Linked DNA regions of Homo sapiens: all the other regions are linked to region 3. Evidence: promoter capture Hi-C in 16 types of primary human blood cells and fetal thymus (Javierre and others, 2016). All regions are on one chromosome and are shown on one strand. The core of a region is centred on a gene start or on the middle of the fragment in contact, and the rest is flanking DNA. Distances in the headings are between cores, read along the strand shown. Region 1 holds the start of UBE2G2 (ubiquitin conjugating enzyme E2 G2). Region 2 holds the start of SUMO3 (small ubiquitin like modifier 3). Region 3 holds the start of SLC19A1 (solute carrier family 19 member 1).

Evidence for each region. Contacts are between HindIII fragments. The CHiCAGO score rates a contact against its expected background, and 5 or more counts as called.
Region 1: the fragment with the promoter of UBE2G2 here is called in contact with the fragment with the promoter of SLC19A1 in region 3 in 8 of 17 cell types (fetal thymus, total B cells, M0 macrophages and 5 more); the score reaches 9.0 in fetal thymus.
Region 2: the fragment with the promoter of SUMO3 here is called in contact with the fragment with the promoter of SLC19A1 in region 3 in 4 of 17 cell types (neutrophils, monocytes, activated CD4 T cells and 1 more); the score reaches 7.9 in neutrophils.

Annotation. Positions count from the first base shown.
Region 1 is chr21:44,799,689-44,803,638 of GRCh38, forward strand. It overlaps UBE2G2 (ubiquitin conjugating enzyme E2 G2), which reads right to left and starts at 2,132. Exons shown (of 6, transcript NM_003343.6): 1 at 2,018-2,132. The coding sequence starts at 2,060. LINC01424 (long intergenic non-protein coding RNA 1424) reads left to right here and starts at 2,553. Exons shown (of 2, transcript NR_109928.1): 1 at 2,553-2,948. RefSeq lists an enhancer at 1,358-2,313 and silencers at 1,861-1,920, 1,981-2,200, 2,701-2,750. The HindIII fragment of the contact is 6,659 bases long and covers 1-3,950 here.
Region 2 is chr21:44,816,716-44,820,513 of GRCh38, forward strand. It overlaps SUMO3 (small ubiquitin like modifier 3), which reads right to left and starts at 1,347. Exons shown (of 4, transcript NM_006936.3): 1 at 1,233-1,347. The coding sequence starts at 1,253. RefSeq lists silencers at 879-1,078, 1,259-1,838, 1,859-1,958. The HindIII fragment of the contact is 14,551 bases long and covers 1-3,798 here.
Region 3 is chr21:45,540,735-45,544,334 of GRCh38, forward strand. It overlaps SLC19A1 (solute carrier family 19 member 1), which reads right to left and starts at 1,706. Exons shown (of 6, transcript NM_194255.4): 1 at 1,634-1,706. RefSeq lists silencers at 1,140-1,199, 1,550-1,859, 1,900-1,979 and an enhancer at 1,834-2,346. The HindIII fragment of the contact is 3,738 bases long and covers 976-3,600 here.

The DNA.
Region 1 (3,950 bases), core at 882-3,381, 740 kb before region 3:
AGGCTTTTTCACTTTATCATTCATTGTGTTCAACAGAGCAGCACTTCTAATTTCCTTTAAGAACTTTTCCTTTGCATTCACAACTTGGCTAACAAGAGACCCAGCTTTCAGCCTATCTTGACTTTCAACATTCCTTCCTCACTAAACTTAATCATTTCTAGCTTTTGATTTGAAGTGGGTAGAGTGCAACTCTTCACTTCAACACTTGAGCCCACTGTACAGTTACTATTGGCCTAATTTCAATGTTGTTTTGTCTCAGGGAAGAGAGAGGCCGGGAGAGAGATGGGGAAACAGCCAGTCAGTGAAGCACACACAACATTTATTAGGACTACCATCTTTTATGGGCATAGTTTGTGATGCCCCAAAATAATTACAATAGTAACATCAAAGATTACTGATCATAGATCACAGTAATAGATTAAAATGTAAGAGAGAGACACGAAGCGAGCAAAAATGGTGCCAACAGACTTGCTTCCATGCAGGGTTGCTTGTAAAAAACTTGTAAACTTGTAAAAAATGCAAGATCTGCGAAGTGAAGCTCAATAAAGCAAAGCGCGCGGGAAACTGAGGTGTGCCTTTATGTTCTGCTTTAGCAGACACTAGGTGGCGAGCGTTATTTGAACGTTTACAGGAGGCCCTGTGTATCTGCGGCTGCATATCCATGGATTCGACCAACCAGGAATACAAAATATTTGAAAAAAATAACAATAAAAAATGACGATTTAAAAATACAAGTAAAAAAAATCAGTGTAACTATTTGTGCAGCACTTACATTGCATTAGGTACTATAAGTAACCTTGAGATGATTTAAAAGTTATGAGAGGCTATGCATACATTAAATGCAAATACCACGCCACCTTATAGTAGGGACTTGAGCATCCGAGGATTCTGGTATCTGCAGCGGGGCCTGGAACCAATCCCCTCCAGATACCAAGGGAAGAATGACCATACGTGAGTGAGCCTGTATTTGCAACGTTTTGGTCTGCTTAAGCCAAACATCAACTCTTACTGGGCGGTGTCACCAATAGTTTTACGAAATCAAGCTACATGTATATTCACCACTTATTTTTTTTCTCACATTCATTCTTTTAGCTTAACTTTCTTCCAAAATTATCCTCAATCTAATTACAAAAGCAGCAGCTAACTTTATTAAGGGTTACACATCAGGTATTTTGCTAAGCACTTCACCTGCAGTATCAAGTTTAACCTTTTAAGACAAGGAAACTGCAGAGACAGAGAGAGGAACAAGGTCAAAGAGCTAACAAGCAGAGAGGCCGGGTCTGAACTCAGGCCCTGCTCTTAGCCGGCTACTATCTCGTCTCCATCGGCGACTCAGGCTCCTGGCGCTTTCAACACAATGGTATTCCAAGACTTCTCGCAGCAGTTCTTCCAAGCGGGCATTCGGTGTAAAACGATGGAATGCCGAGTGTTCCTAGGTTCTCATTTCTCCCTTCGCTCTCCTCAGACATTAGAAATATCTAATTTACCGGGTAGGAAAGCACTCAAGAGGTTTCCTCAACACTACCTAGGAGGAGTGACAGGTGGCACTGTTCAAAAACCCTTTTCCTTCATTAGAGGGAAAGCCAAAATCTGACCTTTCAAAGCTCCACCAACGAGCCTTTCCCCTTTTAACGCATACACTTTTCCCTCCTAATTCCGCAGCAGCAAGTCAGGCCTTCTTCCTCAAGCTCTCACTGCACGTTCTCAAGGCTGCCAAGAAAAGAAAAAATAGAAGAGAAAAAAACAAGCCCGCAAAGACTCAACTGTGTGTGCTCTCAACTAACACGGCGCCGGCGCTGCCTTTACTGATGCTGGGAAGGCTTCTCTTCACGACTTCACGCGTGAGAGTGGGCAGCGGGCGCAGGGCGCGGCACTCCGCGGGACCCACAGGGGGGCTCACGGTGGAGGCCCCGGGCCCGGCTCCCCCGCCAGGCTCCCTGCCCCAGCCCCGCCGGACGACGCGGGCCCGGGAGCAGGAACGCGGGACGCTGCTGACGGCCCGGGTCCCCAGACTCACGTTTGTACTCGGCCATCAGCCTCTTGAGCGCGGTCCCCGCCATGGCCCCGCAACAGCTGCGCCGAGCGACCTCGCCTCAGCCGCGCGCGTGCCTCCTGCCCCGACACCGGGGACTGCTTCCGGGCCACCGTCGCGGGCCCAGGAACTCTTCCGGGGCGTGGCGCGTGCGCGATCGCCGAGGCGCGCTGTCCGGGTGGTGGGAGCTCAACCCGCGACCGCGGCTACGATTCTCTTGGCTCCTGCCCTCGCCTTAGTCGCTCTGCGGGGTTGGTTCGGTCCCGGCACTTCCAGAGGCCTCAGGGTCCTGGTCTTGTAGAGACTTCCTGAACGGTGGCGCCTGTTCCAGTGTGTGTGCGCTAACTGCCTGTTCTGTGCCAGCCGCGCGTGGCCGAAGGGCGGGAGGACGGGGGTTGTGGAGGGGAGGATGGAGGTTGGGGAGACAGGGCGGGGACGAGATAAGAGGTCGGGGGGTGGGGAGGATGGTCGCGGGGCGGTCTGGGGCTGGAGACAAGGGGCCTGAGGTGCGGGTACGCACTGAACATTCCAACCGTCCCCAGCCGGCCGGGTTTCAGGTTTGAAAAGGTGGGAAGGTTAGCTGTCCTGGCGCTTTTCCTCCACGTGTTGTGCGGCTCCGCTGGAGTTCGGGTCCAGCACCTTCTACTCCGAGGGAGAGAGCCGCGGGGAGAGCCCTGTTCGGGCCCGCGGCTCGAACTGACCGCCGGCTCTGCCGAGCAGCCTCGACCCCAGGGCACCCCCGGGAGAGAGGGCGCGGCTCAGGTCCCTGCCCGAACCCCTGGGGTGCTGAGAGACTCCCCAGCGCCCCGCGTGGGCTCCCGGCCTCTCCACAGTTGAGGATCCTGTAAGGGGCGAGCCCTTTTTCCCATAATGGCTGTAGTGAGTGGGTGTGCTTTCCCGATTGACCCGCTGTGAGGTGAGCGATTTTAACCCACATCCTTACTGACTTCACAGCACAGTAGGTGCTTCGTGGCTGTCCGGTGCAAGGATGTATATACACACACACCTTTGCAAAAAAAGTTTGCATCTCTTGCCTGGCTGTTTGTTGCAATAATCTATCATTTGTCTTTTCCTTTCCAGCATTGCAGATGATCCCTTGAAAAGAAGTCTGATCACATTCACACTCTGCTCCGCCCATTTCACTCAGTAAAGCTGAAGTCCTGCAGTGCTTTGCTCTGCCTCCGGTCACCCCGCCATACTCCCAGACCCTCCCTCCCTCTCACTCCACTCCAGCTGCCCTGGCCTGGTTCAGAGTCCCTGACTCTTCCCTCCCCGGAAACACTTTCTGGCGGCTCTTGTCCCCGACTCTTCCCACCTGCTCTTTCAGTCTTTGCTCAAATGTTGCCTCTTCAGTGTGGCCTAGGCCGTCACCACCCGGCCTTCACCGCATACCTTTTTCTCTGCAACACCTACTCAACACACCGTACTATAGAACTTACTGGCATGCTATAAATGTATTACCCTTATCTGTTGCCTCTAACCAAAAGCGTGTTCCATGAGAGCCATGGGTCCCTGCCTACTTCTGTCTTGTTTCTGGGGCAGCCTCTGTACCTGGACATCGTATACTCTTAACACGGATTTGTCAAATCAAATGAAATTTAACAATACAAACTTCACAAGTATGCATAGTGTAGGAAAATTCCCCAAAATTCAAAATTTCAGTCTACCTCCATCTTTTCAAATGACCACAGTGCTTTATAAAATGACATGGTCCTTTGAGACTGTTTCAGAGAGTAATTTGTGCAAATGCAATGTGCAAAAAGTCACAGTGGAGGTGTTTCCTCCCCCATTCAAGAGCTGCTCTCTCTCTAATCAGACAGCACCCCACACCCCAAGGCAGTCTGTCCAGTGCTCCTAAAGGAGAGCAGCTCCCCTTTTCCAGTTATGGGAGATGTGGGCAATAAAGCATTACTGTCAA
Region 2 (3,798 bases), core at 97-2,596, 720 kb before region 3:
GGTGCATACCCCAGGACTGAGACTGGAGGGAGGCACACCCCAGCATGGCAATGGGGGAGACTAAAGCCCACCCAAGGCTGGATAAGGAGGGGTGGGCGCGCATGGTGGGGGAGGCGCAATGCAGAGAAGTGGGCGCACACCGTGGGGCGTGATAGGGAGGGGTGGGCACACACTATAGGGGGCGTGATGGGGAGGGGTGGGCGCACATCGTGGAGGGGGTGATGGGGAGGGGTGGACGCACACTGGGGGTGTGATGGAAAGGGGGACGCGATGGATAGGGGTGGGCGCACACTGGGGGACGCGACGGGGAGGGGTGAGCACACACTGGGGGTGTGATGGAGAGGGCGACGCAATAGGGAGGGGTGGGCGCACACCAGGGACGCGATGATGGGGACGGGTGGGCGCACACCAGGTGGCATGATGGGGAGGAGTGGGTACACACCATGGGGGGCGTGATGGGGAGGCGTGGGCGTACACCGGGGGGCGCGATGGGGAGGGGTGGGCGCACACCGGGGGACGCGATGGAGGCGGTGGGTGCACACGGGGCGCGATGGGTGGGAGTAGGTGCACACTGAGGGCACGATTGGGGAGACACGAAGGAGAGGGGTGGGCGCACACTGGGGGACGCGATGGCCGGGACACGATGCGGAGAAGTGGGTGAATACCGGGGTCGCGATGGGCGCCCTGGAAGGACGGCAGTGCTGCTCACAGGGGCCAGGCCCCTCAGAGCGCGCCCCTTGGGGGTAACCCCAGACGCTTGTTCCCGAGCCGACTCCGTGCACTCGACACAGGATCCCGCACCCAGGGCGATGCCGGGGGAGAGGGCGACCCCAACCAGCAATGACTCAGGAGAGGAGCACGCAAAGACGCTTCGGGGACACTGCTGGGGCGGGATCCGAGGGCGCCGCGCTCTGCAGGAGCAGCAGCGCGGGGCCCGACACCGGGCGCTCAAGGAGGCGCTGGGCGCGCGCCTTCCCAGCTGGGGAGGAGACGGGCGTGGAGCGGAGGCGTGGCCAGGCCCGGAGGGGGCGGAGCTCGCGGCACAGCGCGCTTCGCGGGGGCAGAGGGGGCGCACCTTGGGCGGGCCCACTTAGGGGCGGGGCTCTAGAGGGCGGGGAGGGGCGGAGCCTGTCAGGGGCGGGACGCGGGGCGGAGTCGGGGTGGGGGCGGAGCCGGGCTGGGGGCGGGACGCCCGCGATAGACGCGCGTGCAGGCGGGGTCGCCGCGCTTACCTTGGGCTTCTCCTCGGACATGGCTGCGCGAGCGGCGCGGGGAGGCGGCGCGGGGGAAGCAGCGCGGAGCGGGCGAGTCACGCTCTCGGCCCCGCCGCTCTCCCGCCGCAACTGTGCGCGGGGCCGCGCTTTATCCCCCAAATCCCGGCGCACCCGTTGGCCGGCACGGGGGTCACGTGGCTGCGCGCGTTCACGAGGCGCGCTCCCCGGGGCGTCGGGCGCGCGCAGGCCGGGCCGCGGCTCTGGGCGGTTGGAGATGCGTCACGGGGCGGGTCCCGCGCGACCCCGTCGGGCGCGGAAGCCCTAGGGCGCTGTGGGGCGCGGGCCAGGAGCGTTTACGGGGAGCCCGGGCCCTGGGGACCCTTGCCCGCCTCCCCGCGTCGCCCGGGCCCCGACTCCTTTCCTGGGGGCCGCGTTCCTGGGGCGCCGGGAAGTGAGGCCGGGGCCGCCGCCCATGGCCGCAGGGACCTGGGGCGGAGGAGGGAGGACGCTGGGGGTGACGTTCCCTCTCAGGAGCCGCGGACAGAGCGGAGAAGGCGGCCCGCGGGGTCCCGTCCGCGGGGGCCGCGCGAATCGGGCCAGCACCCTAGACGATTGGGGGCGCCACCCGCCTCCCTGCCGCCGCGGTTTCCTGTCAGCCCCAGGCCGGGCTCCTTTGGCCAACGCTCCTACGGGGCTGCCCCGGGCCCTCCACACCCGTCCTCAAGAAGACCCGTTTTACCTGTGAAGAAACTGAGGCACTGGGAGGTCAAACCACCCCCAGGTCAGCGCTGGTGAGCGGCGCCGAGCTTGGCCAGGCCGCCACGTCGGCGAGCGCGGGCAAACCCAGGCTGGACGCCGCCAGTGCCGGCGGAACGGGGACCTCGTGGACGCGGGAAACGCGCTGGGCCGGCAGGACGGCCTCCCCGGACTTGCGGGCGCCATTCCTGGGGTGCCTGGCCCGCCCCGGCCTCCATGTCTGTGATCCCAGGGCCTCGGATGGAACGGACCTGAGGGCGGACACCCCTGCGTCCCTCAGGAGTGCCCGGGTGGTGCCAGCCGGGGCGTGGCGGAGGTCTCATCTGATGGTGAGCCCGGCCGAAGGCGGGGGAGGCCGCACTTCAGGCTCAGCTGGGAAATGGCAGGGCCTGGATTTGAACCTAAGCGTCTGAGCCGTTTCTGTCCTGCCTGGGAAAGGCTCAGCCAACTGAGCAACGTCGCAAAGCCATGGAGACAAGTCTTCATGGACCATAACTTCACAAACCGTCTTCTACTCAAAAATTCACTTTCTTGGCTAGAGCCCCCACTTAGGAGGGGGAAGGCTGCTGAAGTCTTTCGGGGAGAGGGTCTGAGAGTCAGCCCCAGTCCCAGGCAGGTCATAAGGTGTGGTCCCTTCCTTCTGGAACCTGGAGCCCAGGGCCTCAGCAGAGGATGTGGAGGTGGGTGGCCAGCTCAGACGGTCCTGGGAGGGGGCTCCGCAACCAGCCCCTTCCGAGGGGACGTGGCGCCTCAGAGCCCACAGATTGCTGGCCCTGGAAGTGCCCTAGGGCAGGCAGGGTTCAGAGAGTTATCGACTCCAAGACACCGTTAATCATAAAACAACACGACCGTAGGTAGCACAGACACACTAAACTCCGGCAGGCTGTGGATGACGGCAGCCCGCTTCAGTGTTGTGGAAGTGAGAAACACGCAGCTTAGAAATCATGAGACACAGAACCCAAATGTGTTACCGCTCGAAATTACGCCAGTTGCTGTGTCACGAAGTGATGCGTGACTACAGTCATGGATAAGGGAAAAAGAGGCTCAGATGACATTAGGTTTTAAAAAGCCAGGCTATAAGACAATGGTGGTCTGAATTCAATTCATGCTGTGTCTGTCTCCCACACTGTGACCTGCCCCGAATCCTTCATGTGACAGCAAAGATGCAAAAAGGCTCTGTCGCAGCTGTGGGGACACAAAGGACACCGCTGGTGGACCGAACGCCAAGAGGTTTCTGAAGGACACAGCCAAAGGGGATCGAATGGACGGAGGAACCAGAGCTCAGGAAAAACCGTGGCCTACCACGAGCACAGGGTAAAGAACCCAAATGGCCAGAGCCCCTCCGGAGGGTCGCCACACCTGGCGATGGTCCCAACAAGAAGACTCATGAGAAGGCAGGGAACTGGCAAATGAGTAACAGCATTGCTGACATGAAAGCTCGACCCACATGTGACTAGGAGAGGGGTCCTGGCTGAGGACGCAAAGAACTGCGAGACAAAGTCACAGGACTCTCCCATGATGGAGAAGTTAAGAGAGGAAAGGTCAGGGCTGGGCTGGGTGGCTCATGCCTGTAATCCCAGCACTTTGGGATGCTGAGGCTGGTGGATTACAAGGTCAGGAGTTCGAGACCAGCCTGGTCAACATGGTGAAACCCCGTCTCCACAAAAAAATTAGCCGGGCCTGGTGGCGCATGCCTGTAATCCCAGCTGCTTGGGAGGCTGAGGCAGGAGAATCGCTTAAACCCAGGAGGCAGAGGTTGCAGTGAGCTAAGATCGTGCCGCTGCACTCCAGCCTGGGCAACAGGGTGAGACTCCATTTCAAAAAAAAA
Region 3 (3,600 bases), core at 456-2,955:
CTTCCCGGCATCTGAAGGAAGTCCCCGACCAGACAGGAGGGCCACGGGGAAGCAGAGAGAATCCCTGCCTTCAGGAGAAGGTTGTAACAGCCCCTGCAAATCCCCGGCCCCACTGTCCACAGTGACCAGCCCCACCCAGGCCCTGTCCTTCCAAGCACCAGAGAAGGCCAGAGACCCGCAATCAAAACACAAGCAAACGCCACCTATCATTCCGTGTTTAAACCAGCTCCTACTCTGGAAGGCTAACCAAGAATGTTCGTTATGTTTTTTAGAACGCCTGCTAGTTTAAAAAGAAGAAGAAGAAAGCATTGCACACCCTCCCACCCCTGTTCAGATGACCAAGTTCAGGGTTCCTAACAGCATAATTAGACCCTCCGGCTATCACTGCTGCAGGCCCAAACACCCGAGAAGCACTCTTTCTCATCTGTGTCCAGCAGAGATAACTGTACTATCTGGAATTATAAAAATCCACCAAAGCCCCTTCGGAAAGAAAGCAATTAGCAATTGCAACAAGCAGTGCACAGGTGGCACCCAGGCAAAGGCGGCCAGTGAGATGCAGCCTGGCTCCCAGGCCTGGACAGGGCAGGCAGGTGCACTGGGCCAGAGGCACCTCGGCTCTGCTGATTGAATCTGGGCTGTGCGGGGATCCTCGGGTCTCCGTAGGGGGAGGCCACCTCTTTACAGGGCGGCCAACAGGCGCCTCCAAGGACTTTATCCCACCTTCCCTCTGGATGCATTCTGGATTTCGGGGCCAGCTTAGTTGGCCTGTGTCCTGAGGCCAGGCAGGCCAGACTCCCCAGGACAGGAGTTTCCGATGGACAGGACCCTAGGGGGATGGCTTTCCTGCTGTAGCGGTGTTGGAAGGACCCACTCGGGAAAGGCTCCAGCGGCTGTCCAGGCTCTCTCTGAGACGCCTCGGGATTGCTCCGCTGGATCCGCACCCACAGCTGCTCCAAGGGGAAGTTGCACCTACAAAGCTTCTGGCACAGGAGACAATGGTCTGGAGATGTGCCAGGGGCCCGCCCCACGCGTGGCTGGCAGGGTTCACCCACCGGCTGGCCCGTCCCGAAGCAACACGTGCCTGGGCGCGAACGCCGGATCCACGCTTTCCTCCAGACCCGGGGGTGGGACTTGGCGCCCCAGGATGACGCGGAGGGCAGGCTGGGGGCCGGGACTCCCCACCCCATTCGCAGGCTGCGGCGGAAAGCGAGCGGCGGGAAACCCGCTGCACAGCAACGGTTCTGCCAGGCGCCCGGGCCACCGCGACCCCCGCGGAGACCCCGGCCCACGCCCCGCACCCTCCCCAGGGCCCCCCAGACCCCAGGCTGCAGACCGCAGACCCCGGCCACGCCCCGCACCCTCCCCAGGGCCCCCCAGACCCCAGGCTGCAGACCGCAGACCCCGGCCCACGCCCCGCACCCTCCCCAGGGCCCCGCGGACCCCAGGCTGCAGACCGCAGACCCCGGCCCACGCCCCGCACCCTCCCCAGGGCCCCGCGGACCCCAGCGCCAGCCCCCACACTCACCTCACAGGGCCCTGCAAACCTCGGCCCGCGCCCCGCACTCACCCCAGGGCCCCGAGACACCCCGCAGCCCCCGACACGCGGCCCCGTGGCCCCGTTCCCCACCGGTACCTGCGACTCGGCGGGGCGGCTGCCCTGGGGCTCCCGGACCCGGCCCCGCGCACGCGGACTCCGGGACTACAGCGCCCACAAGGCGGCGCGGCGGGCGCGCGGCTGCGGGGTGGGCGGGTCCGTCCCGCCGAACGCGTCCTGAGGGCGGGGCCTCGCGCGTGGCCGGGCGCTGCGGCAGGAGCGTCCCCACGGGGCACCCTCCCACCCACGGCCGTCTCCCAGCCCCGGCGCCGGCCTCTCCCCACCCGGTCACCGCCGGGGTCACGCGGCCCCTCGTGCTGCGGCCCTACCCCTGGGGCCGCCCCCTGACCCCGACCGCCCCTCGGGCCCCCACCCCCGCCGGCGTCAGCATCCTGGGGTGCCACTCGCGGAGGTGTCGGTCCCTCGGGCGGGCACCCTGCCATCCCTCTCCCCCGCGTTCTTCCCACCCCCGGTCCCCTCCTGACCCCCCCTCCTCGACGAGGCCTTGTGCGTTTTCCTTTTGGCACCCTGGAACACCTGCATTCCTGGCCGCAAGCTGGATCCGGGACGCGGGTCGGGCCCACGCGCCCTCAGGGGTGGCCCTGGGCCGCCTTCGTGGGGCTCCAACAGGGACACGCACAGCCTGCTCTTGGGGACCGCACGGCCCCGAACTCGGCGCCCCCGGGACCCCGCCGCCCGCCCTCCTGCCTGACCGTGACCCGTACGGGCTTGTACCAAGGAGCAAGCCGGATCCAGGACGTGGCCCGGGGCCACCAGTCCCCATCCCAGCAGGGACAGCCCGGGGGAGACCCGCGCAGGCCTCGCAGACGGCAGCGCAGTCACACTCAGGAAGGGGGGCCTGGGCCACTCTCCCAGGAAGGCGTGGGGCTGCGGCAGACAGCACCGCCGAAAGCCCAAGGCCTGTGCAGGACACGGGGAGAAGTGGGGGGCCTCAGGGTCACTTTCCCCTGGAGTTACCCAGGGCCTGGCTATGGGGAGGGAAGCCAAGCCGAGGGCTGTGGGGGCCCCAAGGCTAAGGAGGAGCCAGGAAGTCCACTGCACAGAACAGAAGGGGACGGCCACCGTGGTACCCACAGCTCAAGAGTGCGGGTCCCAGGCGAGGGGTGAGTCTGGGGCAGCAGCCCCTGGAATGTACCCCTTCCGGAGTGTAGACAGCACAATCCGCGACCTGCCTCCTGGTGTTGCGGGGGTGCTCTTGGTCTCCCGCCCACCAGCAGGGCAACCCCACCAGGAAGCCAACACAGGGCCCTTGCCCTAAATGGCCGCCTGCCCAAAGCTCTGGCCTGGGCCTTCTTTCCAGAGTCCTGAGTGTAGCAAGCCACACGAACAAATCTCAAAGGAACTTAAAAAGGATTTGTTGGCTGGAAATGGGGGATCTGGGGTAGCTTGCAGAATTTAAGGGAACACTACAGGATGGAGCGCCTCACCTGGAGGGACCCCCTGCTTTGTGGGAGCCCTGGCTCTCTCCCCTGTACTGGCCTTCTCCACGGGTGGGCAGAACCTGGCCCTGCTGGAAGACAGGAGGGGCAACGCGGAGGAGGAGGGGCCCTTCCTTCCCTCCAGGCAGAGAGGAGCCAGCCATGGGGCCAGCTCGCCAGGGCAGCCTGCTCCCTTTACACGCAGGACAGGCCAGGAAGCCGAGGGGAAGTGGGGATGAACAGCAGCGGGGCTCCTAGACCCCTTCCCACAGAAGGATGGCTCCCACCCCCTTCCCGCCTGGAGACAGCAAGGCAGGGAGCCACAGCCCCAAGGGGACCCCGCAGGACCCACAAAGACCAGTCCCTCACCTGTCTCTCCGGTCAGGTGTAGCCGAGCGAATCCGCCCCCGGCCGCGAGGGGCCTGCCCAAGCTGCCCTCGGGTCCCCCTGCGTGGCAGGAGTCCTGGGAGTTCCCCAGCCACACAAGGCCCAGGTTTCCTGCAGGAGCTGCTTCGGAGTGGGGAGGTAGGGCTTCTGCCACCAACAGCACTTGGCAGTTGTAATCTA